Linked DNA regions of Homo sapiens: region 2 is linked to region 1. The links are contacts of gene promoters, found by promoter capture Hi-C in human tissues and cell types (Jung and others, 2019). All regions are on one chromosome and are shown on one strand. The core of a region is centred on a gene start or on the middle of the fragment in contact, and the rest is flanking DNA. Distances in the headings are between cores, read along the strand shown.

What was found. Contacts are between HindIII fragments. The study calls those that stand out against the background at their distance.
Region 2: a fragment that was not itself captured here is called in contact with the fragment with the promoter of LRRC3C in region 1 in 1 of the 25 tissues and cell types used here (dorsolateral prefrontal cortex).

The regions. Positions count from the first base shown.
Region 1 is chr17:39,926,482-39,931,804 of GRCh38, forward strand. LRRC3C (leucine rich repeat containing 3C) reads left to right here and starts at 1,251. Exons shown (of 4, transcript NM_001195545.2): 1 at 1,251-1,333. ORMDL3 (ORMDL sphingolipid biosynthesis regulator 3) reads right to left here and starts at 1,120. Exons shown (of 4, transcript NM_139280.4): 1 at 1,003-1,120. LOC124903999 (a long non-coding RNA gene) reads left to right here and starts at 239. Exons shown (of 2, transcript XR_007065750.1): 1 at 239-281; 2 at 447-521. RefSeq lists enhancers at 374-984, 985-1,596. The HindIII fragment of the contact is 12,451 bases long and covers 1-5,323 here.
Region 2 is chr17:39,406,536-39,412,123 of GRCh38, forward strand. MED1 (mediator complex subunit 1) reads right to left here. Exons shown (of 17, transcript NM_004774.4): 17 at 1-4,186. The coding sequence ends at 940. Among named protein-coding and RNA genes, the nearest start is that of FBXL20, 7.7 kb to the left of the region's middle. The HindIII fragment of the contact is 5,074 bases long and covers 438-5,511 here.

The DNA of each region.
Region 1 (5,323 bases), core at 1-2,500:
AGAAGAGGCTGGCAGAGGTCGACTAGGTCTACAGGAGTTGAGCCGAAAACTTCTGCTGCCATAGCTGGCAGGTGGCTGCTTAGTGCTGGGCCCTGATGTGGTTTCATAACCTGCCTCAAACCAGAGCCTGCAGCAACTCTGTTGTGTTAACCACTTTTTTGCTGGTAGCTCTTTCCCCCTCCTTCCCGCCCCACCCTCTTGGCTCCACATACAAATATCCGGGCCCAGCCAGTATGCCAGACACTCAAGCCAAGGCTGAGCACCACCAGGGCAGCCACCAGGTGAGCCCTTCCCATTCCCTCCCCCAGGAAAGAGCAGCCCTCACAACAGCAAACCTCCTGTCTTCTGGAAGAGGAGCACAAAACATCCAGGCCTGGATGGGGACCCCAACGGGGAGTCCGGGGCAGCACGTCACAATGCCATGTCCATTCCGCCCACCCCCCAAGCTGCAGGACCACAGCTGATAACCTCTCAACTTTGGCCCAGCCACCCCGACTGGGGGAGGGCGGTAGGAGCGGAAAGCGAGTGCCCAGGCGAACCCGCACTAAGCACAGGAGAGGAGGAGCGAAGAGGCGGAGTCCTCACTGTTGTTGGGGTTTTCTGAGTGAGACCTCGGGTGCGGGGCCGGGGGGAGGGGTCCCGCTCTGTTCCCCAGCCTGGGTCTTCGCACTCGGAACCCGGTCCGGTCCGGGACCCCACAGCCATCTCCACGCGTTCACCCAGCCCTGGAGGCAGCCAAACGTTTATCCCCGAAGCCGAGCCGCTCCCCGCCTCCCACCCCTAGCCGAGGCGCTCCTCCCGACGTTCCACCCCCGGCCTCCCGCTCGCACTTTATTCCTTGGCCACCTCCCCAGCCGATGCACCCCCTCGGCTGATGCACTCCCTCCACCCCCCACTCCCTCTGCCCCCGTCTCTCCAGCCCGGGGCGCCTCCCCAGCAGCCCCCACCTTCTCTCCCGCCCCTCCCGTAGCCCTGGGGCCTCTTGGTTCCTTCCGGGCTCACCGTGTGGGGCCGAAGATCAACGGCCCGGGAACGGTTCCCGGGAGCGGGGGCCGCTGCTGCTCCAGCAGCTGTAACAACCCGCGGCTGCAGCCTCCCCGCTGGCAGCTCCGGCCGAATCAGCGCTCCGCGCCGGTCCCCGTACGTCACCGCCCCGCGCCGGCACGCCCGACGCCTTCTGGGAGTTGTAGTTTCTTCCGCTGGCTCCGGGCCGGCCCTCCCGACGCCTCCTGGGAGTTGTAGTTTTTCCTGGGCTCCGTTCCCGGCCTCTTCGGGGACGCACGGTTGGAAGTTGTACCGTGACGTGATGGTCAGATCGGATGATAGAATTTTGGTGCGTAACAATTCCAACTTTTGCTTCTGTGCCCTTCAAGTGTATTTTATCCGTGCCCCAGTTTTGCAGATGAGGAGACTCGGACTTGTAAGTAACTTTCTGTAGGTCTTTGCTGGGTCCTAGACTGGATCGAAACCCAAATATTCTGACCCCAACTGCAGGATTTTTCCACTGCACCTGGCTGCCTCCGCCCTGGCCCCAGATTGGCTCCTCCAGAAACAGACTAGCCCGGCCCTTTGCCCTGCTGGGCCCTCCTGGGAGAGCGCTTTTCACAACATTGGCTGGGATGAGGGTCTGGAGGGCCCGGAACGGAGCCTGCCTTCTCCTTCTCAGTCACGCTTGGCCCAGGCTGCCCCGGACCGGGCCACATCCTTGGCCGCCCCGCACCTGACGTGAGAAGAGGCTACGTATCATAGATTCCTCCATCAGTAGTAAGGAGCCTGAGTTTCTGTCTCAGGTCAGCTTGTGTGGCTTTGAATGAGAGGCTCTGGTCTGCAGTTTTCACATCTGCATCGTCTAAAGGCAAGGGCACAGACTTTACTGCCTGGTAGACATGGGGTAGGCCCTCCTTTATTGGCAGTGTGACCCTGGGCAAATTACTTGTCTTAATCTCCAATTCCACACCTGTGAAACCCCACCTCCAAGGTTGTGGGAACCCAAAAGAATGTATGTAAAGCACCTGTTGCATTGTAGGAATCTACTTAATATTACTGTAGGAGGTTGAACTAAATGGCTCTTGAGGTCTCCTCGGTTACTCCCATTCTCCATGTCACCAAGAGGTCTTGTCTGGGTAGTTTCAACTCCTTACCCAGCTTCTTTCTAAGTCCACTCTATGCAGGGCAGGGCTGGAATAGCAAGGTCAGATGATGTCATGGCATGCCAACCTGACTCTGAATGGCAGTTCATGGCACCCTGAACTGAAAGTGAGGGAACAGGAAGGAAAAGGCTAGCCCAGGGAAACTGCGGAGCACTTTACTCGGACTACACCTACCTTTCCTTCCCCAGGGGGCTGCCAGGAAACAGTTGTCACACAGCTGGAGTGGGACCCCCAGAGGCACTTAGTGGTCACCAGGCAGGTGGGTATTTGAACCACCCAGAGCAGAACAGGCAGCTTCTTCAATATTTCCAGGGCCAATGGCCCCAAAAGGGCTCATTCCAAGATCGAAATAATCATCTGAGTCTGAAATAGCTCTGCCTATGTCCTGTGGAAGTTTCTCCTGGTTTGTGGAGGTGCCTTTCCTTATAGTCATCTTTCTGCAGACATAAGCAAACCCAGTGTTGTTCTTTTCACAGAAACCTCCCCAGCATTAAGGCAAGAAAGGTGTCTCTGTTTTTTCCGAAGTGTGCCTGCTTGACTCCTTTGATTTTTCTCTGGGATTCTTCATCCTCCATCAAGTTGATCGATCCCTCTGGATCTTGGTCAGTTTCCTGACATCTCTATGAAGTTCAGTGACCCAGACTGAGTCCACGTCTCAAATAAGGTTCTGACTAATGCAGAGTCTAACAGAAAGATTACTGAACATGTCATGCACTATTAATAACTCCTGTTATCGAGGATTTTTTTTTCACAATAGGAATGAACAGAGTTCTGACTCACTCTAGGTTTGTGGTAAATTGCAGATCACTTTCTGCTTTATTTAGCGGGAGTCCCTGTTGTCATCTTTCTCCTTCTCTCTTGGCCCTCATAATTATCATATCTTCCCCAAACGTTCTTCAGCTGTGAATAGCCCTAAGCACTATTCAGAGTGAGTGACAGCTCTCTTATTTCGTGCTGGGGGACATACAAACCCTTGGACAAACACTTGTCACTGTGTGCCAAGAAGCTGAAAAATTCTTCTTGCCTCAGAGCCATAATTACACTTTTGGTAGCATATTCTAAGGAAGTCATCCCATGTACAGGAAAAGCTGCAATGTGTCAGGATGTTCATTCCAGCAATATTTATAGTAGTGAAAAACTGAAAGCAACCAAATGCCCAAGAAAAAAATTACAGTATATCCACTGGATGGAATAGTATGAAGCCATTTAGGACAGATTGTGAAAACCCTGTGGCAGTATGGGGAATGTTTGCTAAGTTATATGAAAAGATGAGGACACAAAATAGCATAACATACATTCCCCAGGGATATAGTCAGCAAAGTCTAGAATGAAGAAAATTAGGACAAACACCCAATTCCCTTAACAAATAAAACTGGGGCCAGGTATGGTGACTCACGCCTGTAATCCCAGCACTTTGAGAGGCCAAGGCTTGTGTCCAGGAGTTCGAGACCAACCTGGACAACATGGTAAAACCCCGTGGTCTACAAAAAATACAAAAATTAGTTGGGCATGGTGGTGTGTCTATAGTCCCAGCTACTCAGGAGGCTGAGGTGGGAGGATCAATTGAGCCCGGGAGGTCAAGGCTGCAGTGAGCTGTGATCGTGCCAGTGCATTCCAGTCTGGGCAGCAGAGTGAGATCCTGTCTCAAAAAAAAAAAAAAAAAAAAAGGAAAAAAAAGAGGGGGAGAGACTTACAGATTAAAATAAATTAAATGATATATCAACTAAAAGTCTTATTTGGATCCTGATTCAAGCAAACTGACTTTAAAAAAAAAAAAAAAAAAAAAAAAAAAAAGGCCGGGCATGGTCACGCATGCCTGTAACCCCAGTACTTTGGGAGGCCAAGGTAGGCGGATCACCTGAGGTCAGGAGTTTGACACCAGCCTGGCCAACGTGGTGAAACTCCGTCTCTACTAAAACTACAAAAACTAGCTGGGTGTGGTGATGGGCGCCTGTAATCCCAGCTACTCAGGAGGCTGAAGCAAGAGAATTGCTTGAACCCAGGAGGCAGAGGTTGTAGTGAGCCAAGATTGCACCATTGGCACTCCAGCCTGGGTGACTGAGCAAGGCTCTGTCTCAAAAAAAAAAAAAAAAAAAAAAAGATTTTATTAAGTTATCAGGCAAATTTGAATACTGACAAGGTATTCAACGATATTAAGGAATTCTAAATGTTTAGGCGTGATATGGAATTGTGGTAAGGTTGTTTTTTTAATTTAAAAAGTCCTCCATGGCTGGGCGTGGTAGCTCATGCCTGTAATCCCAGCACTTTGGGAGGCTCAGGCAGACAGATCACCTGAGGTCAGGAGTTCGAGACCAGCCTGGCCAACATGGTGAAACCCCGCCTCTACTAAAAATACAAAAATTAGCCAGGCGTGGTGACAGGCGCCTATAATCCCAGCTACTTGAGAGGCTGAGGCAGGAGAATCGCTTGAACCCAGGAGGTGGAGGATGCAGTGAGCCGAGATCGTGCCATTGCACTCCAGCCTGGGAGACAAGAGTGAAACTTCATCTCAAAAAAAAAAAAAGTCTTCCTTGGCTGGGTGCGTTGGATCACACCTGTAATCCCAGCACTTTGGGAGGTGAGGCAGGCAGATCACAAGGTCAGGAGTTTGAGACCAGCCTGGCCAGCATGGTGAAATCCCGTCTCTACTAAAAATAGAAAAAAATTAGCCAGGCATGGTGGCACGTGCCTGTAATCCCAGCTACTCGGGAGGCTGAGGCAGGAGAATTACTTGAAACTGGGAGGCAGAGGTTGCAGTGAGCCGAGATCATACCACTGTACTCCACCCCGGGTGACAGAGAGAGACTTCGTCTCAAAAAAAAAAAAAAAAAAAAAGTCCTCCTTTCAGACATACATACATACTAAAATATCTGTGGATGAAATGATACAGTGATTGCATTTGCTTCGAAATAATCTGGACTGGGAACCATAGGGAAATAATAAGATGAGCCATGAGGTGATAATTATGGAAGCTGTGTGATGAGGACATGAAGTTCCTTATATTATTTTCTATACTTTTTTTTTTTTTTTTTTTTTGAGACAGAGTCTCACTCTGTCACCCAGGCTGGAGCACAGTGGTGCAGTTTCGGCTCACTGCAACCTCCGCCTCCCTAGTTCAAGAGATTTTCCTGCCTCAGCCTCCCGAGTGGGCTGGGATTACAGGTGCACGCCAC
Region 2 (5,588 bases), core at 1,725-4,224, 520 kb before region 1:
TACATCCCAACAAGCCACCTTAGCTTTTTTTTTTTTTTTTGAAAGGAAAATGAGATTACAAGTCAATACCTCCACAGAGAGGTAACTCCTAATATTCCTATGATCTCTGAACCCTATTTAAACCCTCCTAAAATAAAAATATCATTTTGGTTTTTCTATTATATTTAACTCTAAAGGCGGGCTCTGACTAATTTGCTTGGGCTTGATGCTACAGTATTAGCACAAGCTATAAGCTCCCTACCACCATATAAGCCTTGCTCTTCGGCCTTCCATCATTTTGAACCCTAAACCTCATAGATTTAGAACGAAACACTGTATAAAAACAAACAGATAAAGGGTTAAAATATTACAAATAAATAGCTAAAATAATCTTCCCTCCCCCAGTCACTCCTAAGAAACAGACACCAAACATTACTTAAGTGTCCAAAATGACCAAAGTCCTTCATTTGCCCATGACTCAAACGGACAACTACCTCAAACAAAGTTGAACAACCTTCATGCAAATGCATCAAGGAATGTATTGCTTTTTCATTTTCTGCCCAGCCCTTCATATACATGCACTAAAATGAGTTTAAAACATGGCCTAAAAATGGAAAAAGGGAGAAGAAAATATATATGAATATTTCCCACAAAACTGTTTCCCTCCCTTCCCTCTCCCTACACCCCTCCCACCCCCCTCCCTTTCTTAAGCAAGTATTTTAACTTTCTTTCTGGCACAGGAACAAAGAAGACTTCCTGGTAACCAGAATCAAACCCTGTGGTTTCTTTAATAGGGTCTGGATATGCCTTTCTAATTCACCCAGCTTGATGTCAAAGCCATGCCATTTAGGATTCTTAACCAAATCAGACCTGTCTGACTCACCCCTTATGGTGGTTTGCCTATAAACTTATCAATAGTTTTTTTTCCTCTGGCCCTGTTTCTTTTAGGAAATAAGGTTCCTAATTCCCAATCAGGGCCACATCCATAAGATCATCATCTTCCTCCCCAATCATAAAGTCTGGGCTGAGCCTTGAGGGTCTGTCTGCAGATAAGATTGTGTTACTTGTCATAGACAAGGACTGGTCTGAAGAGATGGGTGATTTGGACCAACTCTCTGGCTTGATGCTATGAGATTTTTTCTTGTCTCGGTCTTTGTCCCGGTCTCGGTCCCTATCTTTGTCTTTTACTTTCTTCTTTTCCTTTTTGTGCTTCTTATGTTTCTCTGTGCTGTATTCTGGAAGTGGTCGGATACCATCGTCTGAGCTGGGACTATTCTGATAAGATTTCTCTGCTATGGAGGAGCCTGACTCACTTTCACTGTCCAGATTCTGGGGGGTATATGCTGGTGACTTACTATGGCTGGGAGAGCCACGCTCATGCTTTGGAGTGGAACCACTGATGAGTGGAGAGCCATAGTTTTTAGAAGAAGCCATTTGAGGCCTAAGCCCTTCTCCACTACTTTCCCCAGGTTTCTGCAAAGTCACTTTGGCTTTAATGCTAGGGGAGCCTCCATCATGCTTACTGATGATAATTTTTGCCACACCTGTGCTCCCCACATTTTTTGACTCTGAGGTCTTCTTAGAAGAATCCACTGAACTCCCGGAGGTGGAAACCTTTGATTTGTCTTTATCACTTTTCTCACGCTTGCCCTGAAACTCTCCTCCTGACATGTTATGTTTGGAGGACATAGGATGGCTGGAAGAATTTGTGCTCACCCCCATCTGGCCGTCCAGTGGGTCTTCACCCCCAGGGCCACTGGTGACAACCCCATGCTTCAGTTTATCTATGACAGCTGTCAAGGACGGCTTCTTGTTTCTGCTGGGAGATTTTCCTTTAGAACTCCCATGCTGGTTCTGAGAGGATGACATGGAAGAGCCACTTGAGGAAAAGGAGGAGGAAGATGCCGTACAGGAATTAGATGATGGGGGAGTTTTCTGGGACAACGAGCCTGAGGATCCTAACCCTGAAGATGACTTCATGCCAGAGCTTGAACTAGTTCCAGACATATGAGAACCACCAGAACCTGAACTGATAGGGGACTTGGCTTTAGAGGATGGAGGAGTTCCAGGAACAGGCTTCATTGGAGAGGCAAGCTTGTCAGAGCCTCCAGGTGGCCTTGAATGAGAAGGGGATATGTTTGGTTTACTTAAAGAAGGATTCATAAGTGATGATGGCTTTCCTTGAGGTTTCATCTTGGTGCTGCTAGAGCCACTGCTCAGTCCATGCTTGGTTATGGGAGAGGAGCCTGGCTTCCCCCCAGACTGGGATGAATTTTTGGACTGGCTAGATCCAGAAGACCCCTGGCTAGAATACATACTGCTACTTAACTTGGAACTTGATGAACCTTCTGATTTACTGCTTTTCATCTTCCCTGAGGTGGAAGCAGATGAGGAAGAGGAGGAAGAATGGCTATGGTGGCTTTTGCTGCCTGAGGAAGACACAGAACCACTGCTGGTATACTGACTGTGAGAGGAAGGCTTGCCCACCATCACTGTTCCCTTAGGAATCTGAATAGTGATTTTGGGAATGGGTGGTGTGGCAACACCTGGGGGAGTCTGAGATCTTCCTGCACTGCCTGGCGATTTAGATCCACCTGTACTGGTAGGTGGGGTAAAAGGTCTGTTAGAAGAACTATGAGATGGAGACTTTCCCTCAGTGTCTGCCTTCTTCCGCTTTGGAGGCTTATCTTTGCTTTTCCCATCATTAGAAGGGGTCCGACTGCGCTTCCCTGGTTTGCTGTCTAATCCGGGCCCCGAGAGAGTACTATTACTGGTGCCATTGCCTTCCTTTACCCTCTTTTGAGTCTTTTCTTTCCCTAAGTCCCCAGTGGTCAGTAAAGGACCCTGACTACCACTGTGATGCTCCATAAGATCTGCAGGAGCTAAAGCTTTGCCGGCTACTGAAATAATACTGAAATCAACTGTGTCGGCTTGGTTATTGCCCTTAAACTTGGTCTCCCCATTATCACCTCCAAGCATTGGCACCCCCAAAGTATTTAGTGCCTGAGATGCAAATCCTTTGAAATCATCATTATCCCCACTTTGGCTGCTTTCATCAAAATATTCTTCTCCAAAACCACTTTGGCTCTGGCTGTTCAATAAATCAGGATTGAAATCTACTCCATCATGAAAAAAATGATTGGTAGGAGAGTCACTACTGGGGCTTCCAGCAGCATCTGCAATAAGATCAGCTGGATCAGTGTATGGATTTTCATTATTGTTAGTTTGAAAGACATCAGAGTCAAACAGGGTACTCTGAGAATGCCCAGAGCTTGAAGAATCTCGAAGAGGGGTGCCAATGGCTGGGCAATCATCACTAGTGCTGGGAAGTTTAGAAGCTTCTTCTGCAATGTCTGAAAGGATGTCAGTTACATCTGGGCCAATGCTGTCTGAACTGGATAGTCGGACCATCCTTTGAATACTGGGTTGGGGGTGAGGTACTGGTTGTGGGTAAGTTGTTGGGGGAGTGCTACACTGGCTTGGAGCTGGAGTGATGTGTGGCGTATCCAGCGTGTCAGCTGTCATGTTGACATCAAAGATAGGGTTCTGTGAGTCAACATCCATTGAAAATAGCTCCCTCTGAAAGTCATCTTCAGTCTGGTGCTTTGGTTTCTCAGGTGGTAATCTTGATGACTTCTTTTTCTTGGTCTTGTTGCTCCCCGAGCATATTTCCATGCGGGGTGAGCCGGAAGAGGAGTTCTGCCTTTCTAAAGGGCTGCTTCCATAAAGGGTTGAGAAATCCTGGGCAGGATTATCTTTAAGAAGGTTCATGAGCATCGGGTGGTTCTTGGTGTTGCCGGCCATCGAAGAGACAGGTGGCGGCGTGTGATGAGGAGGGGTCGGACTCGAGCCAATGGTAGACCCCCCGTTCCCTGTGATTTGCAACAAACTGGTAAGAATTGGGTTCTGAGACACCTTGCTGAAGTCCTCCCCATGGCCCACCGACTCATGCCGATCTTTGATGCTCATGCTCATATTAAACAAGGTGGTAATGGGACCCCCCGGAAAGGTGTTGGTTGGTGTAGTGGTACCACTCATTGGGTTGTTGCCTGTGGTCATGCCATACCCTGGGCTGCTAGCCGGGGGCAGGTTCTTTTTCACCATGTCTTCAACTGTCTCTGCAATGAGGGACAGTGCTGGGGTGTCGGCTTGAATGGTTTCAGCTTTCCTCCGAATAGCCCTCATCGTCACAGGGATGGACATACATCTGCAAAATAAAGAAGAAAACAAAGTTAACATTGCAATAGCTGCTGAATGAGACCTGAGATTTAGATATAACATCAGAGTTTTGCAGTAAGCAGTTTTCAGGTAGGGCAAATAATCTGTAAGACAAAAATAGTTCTATCAAATACCAGAGCTTTGGGTAAATACATTCTAAAAATCTAACCCAACATAAAATTGTCAACCTCTTATGAATCACACAACAAAAGCAAACTATAAACAAGAGTCCAAATAATTGAATTTCAAACTTAACTAAAAGAAAATTGGTAATAATGGAACTCAGTAAGAAAATGCCTCCTTAGGGGCCGGGCACAGTGGCTCACGCCTGTAATCCCAGCACTTTGGGAGGCCAAGGCGGCTGGAACATGAGGTCAGGAGATCGACACCATCCTGGCCAACATGGTGAAACCCCGTCTCTACTAAAAATACAAAAATTAGCTGGGCGTGGTGGCGCGTGCCTGTAATCCCAGCTACTCGGGAGGTTGAGGCAGGAGAATTGCTTGAACAAGGGAGGCGGAGGTTGCATTGCACTGAGATCACACCACTGCACTCCAGCTTGGCAACAGAGTGAGACTCCGTCTCAAAAAAAAAAATGCCTCCTTAGGTCGGGCGCGGTGGCTCACTCCTGCAATCCCAGCACTTTGGAAGGCCGAGGAGGGTGGATCACTTCGGGTCAGGAGTTTGAGACCAGCCTGGCCAGCGGGGTGAAACCCTGTCTCTACTAAAAATACAAAAAATTAGCCAGCCGTGGCGGTGCACAGCTGTAATCCCAGCTACTCAGGAAGGGTAGACAGGAGAATCACTTGAACCCAGGAGGCAGAGATCGCAGCGAGCCAAGATCGTCCCATTGCACGCCAGCCTTGGTGACAGTGCAAGACTTCATTTCAAAGGAAAAAAGAAAATGTCGTCCTCTGGGGGGCTTCATATGGTAATTACAGGGATACATAATTTATTTTAATTAAGGAACCATTAGAAAAATCTCCGCCGGTCAGAGTGGCTCACGCCTGTAATCCCAGCACTTTGGGAGGCCGAGGCGGGTGGATCACAGGGTCAGGAGTTTTGAGACCAGCCTGGCCAACATAGTGAAACCCCATCTCTACTAAAAAAAAGAAAAAATACAAAAAATTAGCTGGGCATGGTGGCAGGTGCCTGTAATCCCAACTACTTGGGAGGCTGAGGCAGAATTGCTTGAACCCGGGAAGCAGAGGTTGCAGTGAGCTGAGATTGTGCCATGGCACTCCAGCCCAGGTGACAGTACAAGACTCCATCTCAAAAAAAAAAAAAAGAAAAGAAAAATCTCTTGACCCATTAAGTACTAAACCTTAATGACTTAGATCATCCCAAACCTACACTATTATAAAAAGTGCTATTTCTGTTATAAATCTTGT